4 separate regions of the Homo sapiens genome follow, and all the other regions are linked to region 1. The links are contacts of gene promoters, found by promoter capture Hi-C in human tissues and cell types (Jung and others, 2019). All regions are on one chromosome and are shown on one strand. Each heading gives the region's core, a stretch centred on a gene start or on the middle of the fragment in contact. The rest is flanking DNA. Distances are from core to core; before and after follow the strand shown. Region 1 holds the start of SHROOM3 (shroom family member 3). Region 2 overlaps LOC105377286 (a long non-coding RNA gene). Region 3 overlaps SHROOM3 (shroom family member 3). Region 4 overlaps SHROOM3 (shroom family member 3).

Region 1 (3,027 bases), core at 336-2,835:
AAGAATTGAGGTATGCTGCAGGATGACTAAGGTTTAAAAAGGGATTCAAATATACAGATAAATAGGAGAGGCAGAAATGTTTTGATCTTGAGTTATGCTGAAAGCTGATTTAATTCTCCTTTCTGAGTGTGGGGAAAAAAAGCAACACATGGTATTTATGCAATCTATTATCCAGAATTATAAGCAAACTTAAAATATTTTTAGATGCTATTTTCAGTTGAAGAGAGAAAAAGCAGATATTTTTGAATGCACAAATATATACCATGCCACCATCTTAACCATGTTATTAATCTTTAATCTGATTTATAACTGAAAAGCTCATGTGGTAACTGATTGTATGCGATTTCATTCACAAAAAGAGAAGATTATCCATCAAACAGGCATATTTTTCTTCGGATTTCATAGAATAAATGAGCTAGACACATTTTTCTTTCAAATCCCAGGCTATCCAAAATATTTCTAGATAATCAGAAAGGCATGAAACAGCAAATTAAGTTATATTAAGGCAGTTCTCATTATTTTGCATTTTTGACAAATCTGACAAGTTGAAAAAAACAATTTGAATAAAGGCAATATTGGAAAAAGAAACATACCTTAGAGATGATTAATGGTTCTCCGTGCTCCAGGCCACCCTTTAGAGTAAAACCCCAGGGAGCTCCTCCCTCCAGGAATGCCTCCAGATAAATGTACCTTCCCTTGGTGGCCGTGTTAGAGTTTAATGTGGCACTAGGCTTGTGGAAGTCTTCAGTGGTCCTCATCATGCCAAACACATGATCCCTCAAGTTAAATTTAAAATGCCTGAAGCAAACTCAGGCAAGCAGTGCTTCTACAGCACAAGTTGTCCCATCCTTCAGGACACACAATGGCCAAAAGAGAGGTTTGGAGAAGCAAATTCTTCCATACGTAAAATGTTCTTCCAAGCTGAACTCCAAGATGCTGAACCAGAAGGAATTTTCACTTCAACATTTCTGAATGTAAATCCTCCTCCAGGAATTCTGGGTTCTCACTGAAGCCCCCAAGTGGTATACATCTCTACTCCGTTCGTCAAAACTTCCTTCAGTGGCGCTCTGAAGATTGCTTTTCTGAGCTTTTATTTCACACATACACACACTAAAACCATTTCTGCCTATTTTACAGAGAAAATTAAAAGCATCTTACAATATAGTAAGAAAATCACAAATACTCAAAGGAATACCTCATTTTTGATTGATTATCAACCCTTTCTTCCTCTCGGAGTGAAATTTACCATTACAATAGCCTCCTCCCTCCCCAGAAGTAGCTTAAAAAGAAAGAAAGCACTTACTATGCTTCGGCTCACTTCAGAATTTTCTAACTTGTCCCGAAGAGACAGAGAAGCTGTGCTAAAACTTTTTACTTCTTTTTTTCAACAATCAGTTCATAGTTTGTTTCTTAGGAGAGAAAAAAACTTTTGCAGGATGTAGAGAAAATGAAAAAGCACGGTAAATTAATCCTCAATGGAAAAAATATGAAGGAGGCAGCTCAGTTCTTTTCTTTGGTATTTTCAGTGATGATCAGCCACTGCTGCGGCCGCCACAGCCACTTGCCTCCTCTTGAGAGAAAGAGTAAGGAAGTTAGAGGAACATGGATTAAGGCAAAGTGAGGCATTGCAACCTTTCTGCACAGTAAGCACTGCCATGCAGAATTCAGCTCACCACAAAGACCTGACAATTCAAACAGTCTTACAGTTAATAACACGTAGGAAGTTAAAAATACTATACAGATGGCTAATTGCCAAGGGATAGAAAATAGTTCCTAGAATAGCCCCGCCTCGTACCAATTAAAGGAGAATTTCAGGGAGTGAGACATAGGCATTTGTGTTTTTAAAAACCCTCCAGGCAATTCTGCTATGCAGCCAAGTTTGAGAAGCAATGCCTAAGTGATTTGGGTAAACGTTTAAGTACATGTCAAGGTGGTGGCACAAGGGCTTTTTTTTTTTCGTTAGAAGAAAATACTACCAGTGTAATATATGAAATGGGACTTTCCAATCAAAGTTCTGCTTGTTTGACTCAATAAAAACAGGAGGTGGGTTTTTTTTTCTAGGTTTTCATTGTTATCTACTCCAAGATTGTTATCCACTCTTTAAATGAAAAGAAATCTACAATGCCTTGTGGGTAAGTACTAGGTACTCGGGAAAGAATGTTGTTCTGATTTCATGTTACCAGTGTCATTTTGTAATAATGTTATATACAAATTTAACATTCATGCTTTGTATTAAAAATTTGAACAGTAGAAGATAACCATATCTAACCCAGAAGCCTCAGCTATTTAGTTATTGGAACAGATTAGAATTACTTCCAGGTAATATATGTACTAAAACTTTTTTCTGTTTAAAAGTATGGGATAATGAGAATTAAGTTGAAAACTGAAGTTAAAAACTACTGTGGGGCTTGATAACAATTATTTTGGTGTTTGTACTTATAATTAATGAAAGGCTGATATGGAAAGGCAGGTATATGATATCAAACTACACGATATTTAATTTACAACACTGGACAGGTATTGTTTGATTTTCAATGGTAACTTCACTTGAAGGGCTCAAAGACAAAAAAAAAAAAAAAAAAGTAAAACCTTATGTAATGGTAGTATGTGAATGGAAACATAAGGAAACCTAAGGTGTACCAAATGAAAGTATGTGGTAAAAATTGGCTGATTCTTAAGGGTAATTTACGCAATTTCTATTGTGGTTTTCTTTTACAGCTTAATTTGTAAGTTAGAATAAATGGAGAAACATTAGCTTTTCTTTCATTTCAAAGAACATATGTATTTTAAATAAAAGTCCTAGGTAAATGAACAGCTTTCTTTCTGAAAAAATTAATTTATGAGGCTCTTATTATGTTACTCCTAATACATTTTGTAAAAACTGGGATTTTACAGAATCCACATTTAATATTAAAAGTAACATAGCTATACAAAATTTCAGTTAGGAGGCATAAGCTCAAGAGATCTATTGTACAGCATGATGACCATAGTTATAACAATGTATTGTATATTTGGAAATTGCTAAGA
Region 2 (3,027 bases), core at 242-2,741, 190 kb after region 1:
CAAAACCACAATGAGATACTACTTCACACCAATTAGGATGGTTATAATAATAAAAACAAACGAATAGAAAATAACAAGTGTTGGTGAGGATGTGGAGAAATTAGGACACTCATGCATTGCTGGTGGGAATATAATATCTTGCAATTGCTGTGGAAAATAGTTTGGCAGTCCTCAAAAAGCTAAGCAAAGGTTTACCATATGACACATCAATTCCACTCTTAGGTATATACCTAAAAGAATTAACAACAGGAACTCAGATATTTGTACATCAATGTTTATGGCAGCATTATTCACAATAGCCAAAAAGTGATAAGAACCCAAGTGTCCACCAACAGATGAATTAATAAACAAAATGTGGCATATACATACATGGAAAATTATTCATAAAAAGAATGAAATTTTGATAAGTTATAACATGGATTAACCCTGAAAACATGCTAAGTGAAAGAAGTCAAATGCAAAAGGACATATAGTGTATAACTCCATTATATGAAATATCTAGAATAGGCAAACTCATGAGACAGAAAGTAAATTAGAGATTTTTAGGGACTGGGAGAAGGAAGAAATGAGGAGTTAGTGCATAATGGATACAGAGGTTTTTTTGGAGGATGATGAAAAAATTTTGAAATAGTGATAATGATTGCATAATATTGTAAATGTAATTAATGCCACCAAATTATAAACTTTAAAAGAATGGTTAAAGTTACAAATTTCATGTTACATATATTTTGACACAATTTTTTAAAGTTGTAAAAAATACCAAAAAAAGAAGGAAATTTGAAAATTAATGAGCTAAGAATCCAACTTAACAAATTGGAAAGATAGTCAAATAAATCCCAAAAGAAGTATGTTTTTAATGTTGAGCAAAAGAAGCCAGACGTCAAGAGTATACACTGTGTTCCTATTAACATGAAGTTTTAAAACAGGCAAAATTAATTTATAATGATAAATGTCAGAATTGTGGTTACTTGGCGGGTAACTGACAAAGAGAAGGCATGAGGGAGTCTGCTAGGAAGATGCAAATCTTCTACATCTTGATCTAGTTGGTGGATATGTTAGTACATATGTAAAATTTTAATGAGCTATACACATCAGATTTGTGCATTTTACTATGTAAGTTATTCAATAAGAGAAAAGCAAAAAATGCAGCATTTTCCATCAGGAAAATAATCCTAGAGAAATCTCTACCCCATTATCACATAAAGAAACAAGCTTCCTGGGAGCCCTAGGGCACCCTAAAGTCTGCAGACTTTCCCCTAAACATTCCTTATTTTGTGGTACTCATCCAGGGGAAGGATATTTAAAATATTTAACAACCAGTAAAGCATATACACTAACCAATCAGGAAGATGGCCAGCCAGATTGCAACAACGGAGTCCTAGAGTCCCCTAATCATAATGGCAATACCTTCCTTTAGTTGCTGATCTTGTAGAGAGTGGCTGGAGCCACCAGAGCACAGCAGTCACTCAGAATTGCTCAGAGCAGTGGCTATTTACCAACCAACACAGTGTTTTGACAACCATTATAGTCCTAAACCTTGCTTACCAGCTTACTGTCAACCTTCTCCCTCACCCACAGAATCTCTCTAGAGATTTTCCTGCATAGTGTTTTAAGTGGCTTCTTGAAAACTGCCCTCAGTGTAGACTACACCTGCAAACCAAATAACAATGGGGGTAAAGGCATGACACCAATAGTCAACAGGAGCATTTCTCACTTGGTCAGTAGCATTGAGCATGATGGCAGATAGGGGATTACAGATAAAATTGACAAGGTTCCTGCCCTCAGGAGGTTATGGTTAAGTGGATGGATGGGTCCTTTAGTTCGGTCAGGCTGCTAGATTTGAGGAGATGCCTGAGCCATCTGCAATAGGCTAGACACACTTAAAGGAAGATAGTGGAGATCTGTACCTCCACTCTTTGTTGAACAGTGGGCCATGAAGAGTAGATGGGATGTAGGGATACATTGCTGGTGGGAGTGTAGCTAGAACAGTTATTAGGAGAACAATCTGAAAGGACTTAGTCAAACCAAGTATATGGTATCTGCTGGCTGATTTGTTCTTCACTGCCCCTGCCTGCTCTGCCCTGGCGTCAGCAAGCTGCACTGGGGGCTGGGTTCGGCTAGTGGAAAGCACTAATAGGAGATTGGGGATGGAGGAAGGGAACAGTCAGGCTATTTTTCTCTCTCCATCTCTCTCCTATTTATAGAGGCATCTATATTTCTTCCTTCTCTTGGAGCTCCCACCAGGTGCTATGATTCCGGCTTTTGTCACATGACTCAAACTCTTGGTTCCAAGCAATTCGTGCAGTTTAGGTGTGGTAGGGGTTTCCTATTATTGCCAGTCTCTAGATTACCTATGTCCCCTGTTTGGCTCTCAGCTCTTTCATCACCTCTGTAACTATTCCCTGCATTAAAATCTTAGTTTTACACACTTAGAGTGGCTTCTGTTTTCCTGGTTTTACTCTGATACGTATGTTACTTATGACTCAGTATTTCCACTGCTAAGTATAGGAATCCAGAGGAATTCTCACACACAAGGCAAGACGTATGAGGATGTTGCTGCAGCATCGTTACTAGTGTTGGTGAGTTGGGGGCAATGTGCATGTCCATTTCTGTGAAATGAGTGGATAAAATGGATGGATAATTAGGCATCATTAGAAGCAATAGTCTAGATAGATACTCAGCAACATGATTAGACTTTTAAAAATATATTGCTGAATGAAGAAAAACAGAATGAAACTTTTACTACAATGTGGTTTATATAAAACTGTGCATAAAAAACAAAAATGTACCTCTTATAAGAATTCTGAGAGAAAACATATGTCAACACTTAATGACAGGCCAGGCGCAGTGGCTCACGCCTGTAATCCCAACACTTTGGGAGGCCGAGGTGGGTGGATCACGAGGCCAGGAGTTCAAGACCAGCCTGGCCAAGATGGTGAAACCCCGTCTCTACTAAAATACAAAAATTAGCTGGGCACAGTGGCAGGTGCCTGTAATCCCAGCTACTCAGGAGGCTGAGGCAGGAGA
Region 3 (3,027 bases), core at 232-2,731, 170 kb before region 1:
TTTGAAATTGAGGCACAGTAAGCTGATTTGGTAAAAAATATGGAAATTGTCAGAGTCAGAGTAGAGTTTAGCATACCAAGACCACTTTCTACAAGCTGCTACAGCATTTTTTGGACTCCTGCCAGCTACCCAGTACAATACTATGTATGTAATTTAATGTATAATGCATGTAATTTATACTCCCAGGAACTCTAGAGGTAAAGGTTTTTACTCCCATTTTATTTATTTATGTACGTATGTATGTATGTATGTATTTATTTTTTGAGAGGGAGTCCTGCTCTGTTGCCCAGGCTGGAGTGGAGTGGTGTGATCTCAGCTCACTACAACCTCTGCCTCCAGGGTTCAAGTGATTGTCCTGCCTCAGCCTCTCAAGTAGCTGAGATTACAGGCACCTGCCACCAGGCCTGGCTAATTTTTGTATTTTAGTAGAGATGGGGTTTCACTATATTGGTCAGGCTGGTCTCCAACTCCTGACCTCAAATGATCCACCCGCCTCCCAAAGTGCTGGGATTACAGGTGTGAGCCACTGCACCCAGCCTTTACTATCATTTTACAGATAAAAAACCAACATTCAGAGTAGCTAACATGCACCACACTGGTAAGCAGCAGTCGGTAGTAAGCATAACACTTAAAAGTATTTGTTTGTTTAAAATATATAGTATTTGGTGGCTCACACCTGTAATCCCAGCACTTTGGGAGGCCGAGGCAGGCAGATCACAAGGTCAAGAGATTGAGACCATCCTGGCCAACTTGGTGAAACCCTGTCTCTACTAAAAATACAAAAATTAGCTAGGCGTGGTGGCAGGCGCCTGTAATACCAGCTACTTAGGAGGCTGAGGCAGGAGAATCGCTGGAATCCGGGAGGTGGAGGTTGCAGTGAGCCGAGATTGCACCACTGCACTCCAGCCTGGCAACAGAGTGAGACTCCGTCTCAGAAAAAAAAAAAAAAAAAAAAAAATATATATATATATATATGTGTGTGTGTGTATATGTGTATATATATGTATATATATATGTGTATATATATATATAGAGAGAGAGAGAGAGAGAGAAAATTGTGCCTTTAATACATTTTTGGAACTATGAAATGATAAAGAGTGATTCTGTATCAAAGGTGTTATAGAAAGAAATTGAATGGTAGCTATTAGAATTTCTACCAAGGGTCTTTAAGGTCACATTTTAGAAAACAAGGATTTTTTCCATCTATTTAAAAGCATACATCTTTTCATTTTTTCTGTTTTTGTTTTTGCTCTGGGATTTATGCCACTGAAAAAATATTTTCCCCCTCTTCAGCAACTTAATTAGGTTTTTTCCCTTTGTTGTCACTTAGCTGAGTTACATAGTTCTCTCAACAACTAAGCAATTCTATTTGACCATTTATTTATAGTTTCCTTTTTGCTATTTATTTCTTAAATAGGATTATTTTAATTTCTGCTTACCCAAGTTAGAGGAATGAGTCATACCTGCCTGTTCTCTGACAGTTTAAGGGGATACAAAATGGGATGTGTTGAGGCTAAAAGGCATGCCTAGTTCAAATCTAATTTATGGTGCTCATTATTTTTCCAACTTTTCTTAGAATTTTTATAATGAGAACTGTTCTCTCCCACTAGAATGCAATAAAATGGTGCCTCGAAATCCTCTTCCGGGCTGTATGTCATTTAGGTATTTCCCGGGCAAATCCTAGCTGTTGATTTCTCCACTTGTTTTTAATTAAAGTTCACTCTGATGATGCTGTCATGGCCATGACTCCACTGCTGCACCGACAACATTGAAGTCATCATGAAATAGGGCTGACTGATCTTCCTACAACAAATCTTTCCACACGTACACTCATACTGATGCTTTTACCGCCATGGGGACATTACTTTTCAAGCCTGCATTTGAGCTGTGTAAGAGGTATTTAAATCCAAATCAGTTTAATGTTTATTAGTAATGCTTCATTCAGCACTATATCAAAGGTGCATGCACCTTGACCCTTGAGGAATTCAATCCAGGGAAATATATTAGATTGATTTTTGGCATTTTAGAGACAAAATGGACCCTACAGATAAACTAGTTCACATTTTTGGTTTCATAGATAAGTAACTCCTTAGCCTTATATAGTCAGCTAATTGTTTACTTACTACAAATTCAATCTAAAATCAACAGAATAAATTCCTAGAAATCTTATTTTGAACGCAAGGTCACTTTTGTCTTACAAAACTTACTATTTTAGTGTTTCAACATCCCTGCTATTTCTGTTTCCTATACTGCCTTAGATGGTTGTGATTTCAAAAGTTTCAGACATTGTCTAACAATTATCAACATCAATGCTTAAAAAACAATGATTTCTAATATTTTCATGGCATCCTTCAGGTGGACGGTTACCATTTGAACATTTTAATGAAGGCATTCCAACTTTGAAGAGATCATTTTGATCAAGTGCCTTTGTTCACCAGAATAACACACAGACAACTTAGATACCACACTAAATTTAGTTAAGCTCAAAAGCAATCATGTGTCTTTATGTAGGAAAGCAAGTGAGACATGTTCTAGAAAATAAATTGAAAACCCAAAGCTGCAAAACCATCTTTACCTGTTTGTGTACAGCATTTTGATCCTATCATGCATTAGGAACAATAAATATTATACAACATGTCAGCAACTTGGCATAAATATAGCCAGACCATATTTGATATCAACATCCTTTAAAGCACAATCAACCAGTAGCCCCCAAGTATTACAACAGGCTAAAAGTGTTGAAAACATCCTCTTCCAAGGCAGCCAGAGGCTCCAATTCTAATAAATGTCCTTGGCTGCCTGAAGACTGAGATGCTCTACAGGCTTAAGAATACAAGATGCAGTCGGGCACAGTGGCTCACGCCTGTAATCCCAGCACTTTGGGAGGCCGAGGTGGGCGGATCATGAGGTCAGGAGTTTGAGACCAGCCTGGCCAACATAGTGAAACCCCATCTCTACTAAGAGATGGGGTGGCAGGTGCTTGTAATCCCAACTACTCGGGAGGCTGAGGCAGGAGAATCACTTGAA
Region 4 (3,027 bases), core at 153-2,652, 150 kb before region 1:
AAATAACCTGTCCTTTCACAAATTATGAGATGAATAAGGAAAGCATTGATATTTACAAAGAATGGATGCCTTTTAGTAATACTAGATTGAACCATATGAAATTGCCAATATTTGATAATTTTTGGTCCACTACAATAGAAATTTCATGTGGTTCCAACCTACAGTTGACCCATAGTTAGTAGTTACTATGTGTCGGTAGTTACCATGTTACATTCTCTAATCATCACCACAATTCTATAAGGTAAATATTATAATTATTACTCCAACTTTACAGATGTGGAAACTGAGGCTTCGAGAAGTAACTTGTTGAACATTTTACAGCCAGCAAGCAGCAGATCTGGAATGCACACCTAAGCAATCTGACCACAGAGCCCATGTTCTGAACCACCACCCTCTGAGATAAAGGCTTTGCATTCACCAGCTTTGTGATTGCAGGCAAATTATTCAGCTTTTCCAAGCGTCAGTTTTCTCTCCTCTGAAATGGGTACCTATCTGATGTGAGGACTGAAGGTGATGCTATGAAAAAGCACTTAGCATAGTGCTTGGTCTACAGGAAGAGCTCTAATGTTACCCAGTTGTGGTGGTATGGGCTGGATGGTCGCTCTTCCTACCTTCATCATGACCTGAGGTGAGAGCATAGAGCACGACCTTTCACCCTTGGGTGGTTGGGTGGCCACTCATGGACAGAAGAATGGTGAGCTCAGGGGTCCTCAAGTCTGGAGATGATGCCGTCCTAAGTCAGTGCAGACAACTCTGGTGCATAGGATGTTCTTTACACTGGAATGTGCACCAGCTCCCCTCATTTAGAAGGAAGACCATCCACACCACGCTGCTCCCCCAGCCCAGGTAAGACCTGCCCACAGCCCCATCTTGTATTTCCTCCTTTCTCTACATCTGAGTTCTAGAGAGCATTCAGACTCAGCTGTGATCAAAAACAAACGCATCTGTTCCTCATGTGGAATGCTCTCACAAACATCTTGACTTCTCACTTTCTACCTGTCCAGATTCTTTGGCAATCACTTGCAGAGGGTTAGGCCATTCTTGTTGGAAGAAGTAATGATGATCTAATCTGGAAGCAGTGCTGTGGACCCCGCTGCACACTGGACCAGAAGGGAGGGGACATTGCTTTCCCTTCTGGCTCTGCCACTGATTAGCACGTGACCTTGAACACGTTACTTATTGTCTAAGGCTCTGTTCCTCATCCTTGGAGGAGGCCTCTGGTCTAGAACATCACTCAGTGTCTTCCTAGTCCTAATATTTGTGGTGAAGAGAGGATAAAAAGGAATAAACTAGATGAGTGTTTGAATATGGTGCTTTCATTTTTTTCTCTCAAAGCTAGTAGCTCATCTACTCAAGCACATCCTGTTTTCTCCTAATTGCCATTTTATAAGCCCAGGGCAGGAGAGTTTTATGTTACTCTGTTGATGAACTGCAGACCAAGATGAATAGCCTTGATTTCTGAACACCAGATTTCCGCTGGTCTTTTTCCTTAATGATTTGCACATGGCCTTGTGAGGTGCTTGTTTGGGATTAGAGATGAAGGTCTATGGTGGGAAAGCTGCACAAAATAATGAAGACTGTGGTTTCTTTGCTCATTTTTTTTTTTTAATTTCTGGGTCTGTCCATAACAGTTAAACTATTCTCTAGGTGTTGTAAGGTAGATTGATTTTCTGTGTAAGGTAGGTTTAAATGCCTGTAGGGCATAGCCATTTAAACTCCCAGGAGGAACTTAGGAAATTTATGAATGGGGGAGCTAGAAACAGCCTCTTGAACTCTTGGTCTGGTTTTCTAAGAGCACTCACCAACTTCTAACACACTGTTTCATTCACATATGTATTGTGTTTGTTATTTATTGCTTCTGCTCACAAGAATGTCAGCTCCATGAGACAGAGGTTTTTGATTTTTATCATGGCTGAGTTCCAAACACCTAGAGCAATGGCTGGCATTTATTAGGTGCTTAATAAATAAACTTTACAAAATATGCAAAAGATTCAGGTAGAACAGGTGTCCTGTACATCTCACTTTTGGAAGTCACACTGCATCTTTAGAAGGAAGAGTGATTGTAGAATAAATCTCAATGGTGAGGGTAGAGACCAGGTCCAAGATGATGATGATGTGTTAGACAGTAAATGAACTTCGTGGGGTTCACGATTAGTTTAGCCCAACTCTGCAAATTCCCACATATAGGTTTCAGGTTGAAAGAAAACTGGGCAGTGAGCCTAGATAGAAACTCAGTAAGCTTAGTTTCTCCCTTATAGCCCATTTTCATTTAATTTCCTGGGAAATTGTATTTGTTGAACTCCAAGTATGTCTGAAAGAGTCAGATCCTTGAAAATGCTGTAAGGGAAGCAGACACACAGCAGCTGAGCCCAATGCTCATTTTACACTCAGGCAATCATTTTTTATCCCAGGCTGATGACACCGTAACTTTAACAATTTTGATGAGATAATGGCTCCAGGCTTCTTAGTATCATAAAAGATGTCAGTTAAGTCCAAAGTATTATTATACAATGCCTGTCCAGTATAATAACTGTAGGACATAAACCACTTATGATACAGCAATCGAAAGGCACACAAATGAAAATGACTGGAATTACAGATGAGAATCAACACATTTTTTCAATTTAATTTTGCTTCTTTTCTACTGGCCTAAAGTAATCATATCCCCCTGTTCTTTTTTCTCTCTTTCCACATTCTTTAATTCTTTGGGGAAACCAAGGTATTTCTTCACAAGAATGTTACTGGCCAGAAGGTAGCAATTAAAGGCATTGAACTCAATCATCCCTTCAAAGTCCCAACATCCCAGACAGGGAAAACCAAGTTACCATTTAGTGCTAAGAATAGCAGGTAAAAGAGTTACATTTGGGTTCACAATTTATTCTTAGGAATGAAAAAAAAAGCCTCTTGGAGAAAAATCATTGTGGAACACAAACTAGCATTATTAATGATCCATTTCAATCTCTGGGACAATTCCACAGCTAATATAAAGAATAAATAAGGCACGTTGTGCACATGTACCCTAAAACT

Evidence for each region. Contacts are between HindIII fragments. The study calls those that stand out against the background at their distance.
Region 2: a contact is called between a fragment that was not itself captured here and the fragment with the promoter of SHROOM3 in region 1, in 2 of the 25 tissues and cell types used here (hippocampus and neural progenitor cells).
Region 3: a contact is called between a fragment that was not itself captured here and the fragment with the promoter of SHROOM3 in region 1, in 1 of the 25 tissues and cell types used here (mesendoderm cells).
Region 4: a fragment that was not itself captured here is called in contact with the fragment with the promoter of SHROOM3 in region 1 in 2 of the 25 tissues and cell types used here (adrenal gland and neural progenitor cells).

What each region holds. Positions count from the first base shown.
Region 1 is chr4:76,433,787-76,436,813 of GRCh38, reverse strand. It overlaps SHROOM3 (shroom family member 3), which reads right to left and starts at 1,585. Exons shown (of 11, transcript NM_020859.4): 1 at 594-1,585. The coding sequence starts at 761. The HindIII fragment of the contact is 12,167 bases long and covers 1-3,027 here.
Region 2 is chr4:76,244,647-76,247,673 of GRCh38, reverse strand. It overlaps LOC105377286 (a long non-coding RNA gene), which reads left to right. Exons shown (of 3, transcript XR_938897.4): 2 at 2,504-2,579. It also overlaps a transcript of FAM47E not described here. Among named protein-coding and RNA genes, the nearest start is that of FAM47E, 5.6 kb to the left of the region's middle. The HindIII fragment of the contact is 9,167 bases long and covers 1-3,027 here.
Region 3 is chr4:76,603,939-76,606,965 of GRCh38, reverse strand. The region is part of intron 2 of SHROOM3 (shroom family member 3); the gene reads right to left. Among named protein-coding and RNA genes, the nearest start is that of MIR548AH, 30 kb to the right of the region's middle. The HindIII fragment of the contact is 5,373 bases long and covers 1-3,027 here.
Region 4 is chr4:76,580,956-76,583,982 of GRCh38, reverse strand. The region is part of intron 2 of SHROOM3 (shroom family member 3); the gene reads right to left. Among named protein-coding and RNA genes, the nearest start is that of MIR548AH, 6.9 kb to the right of the region's middle. The HindIII fragment of the contact is 9,198 bases long and covers 1-3,027 here.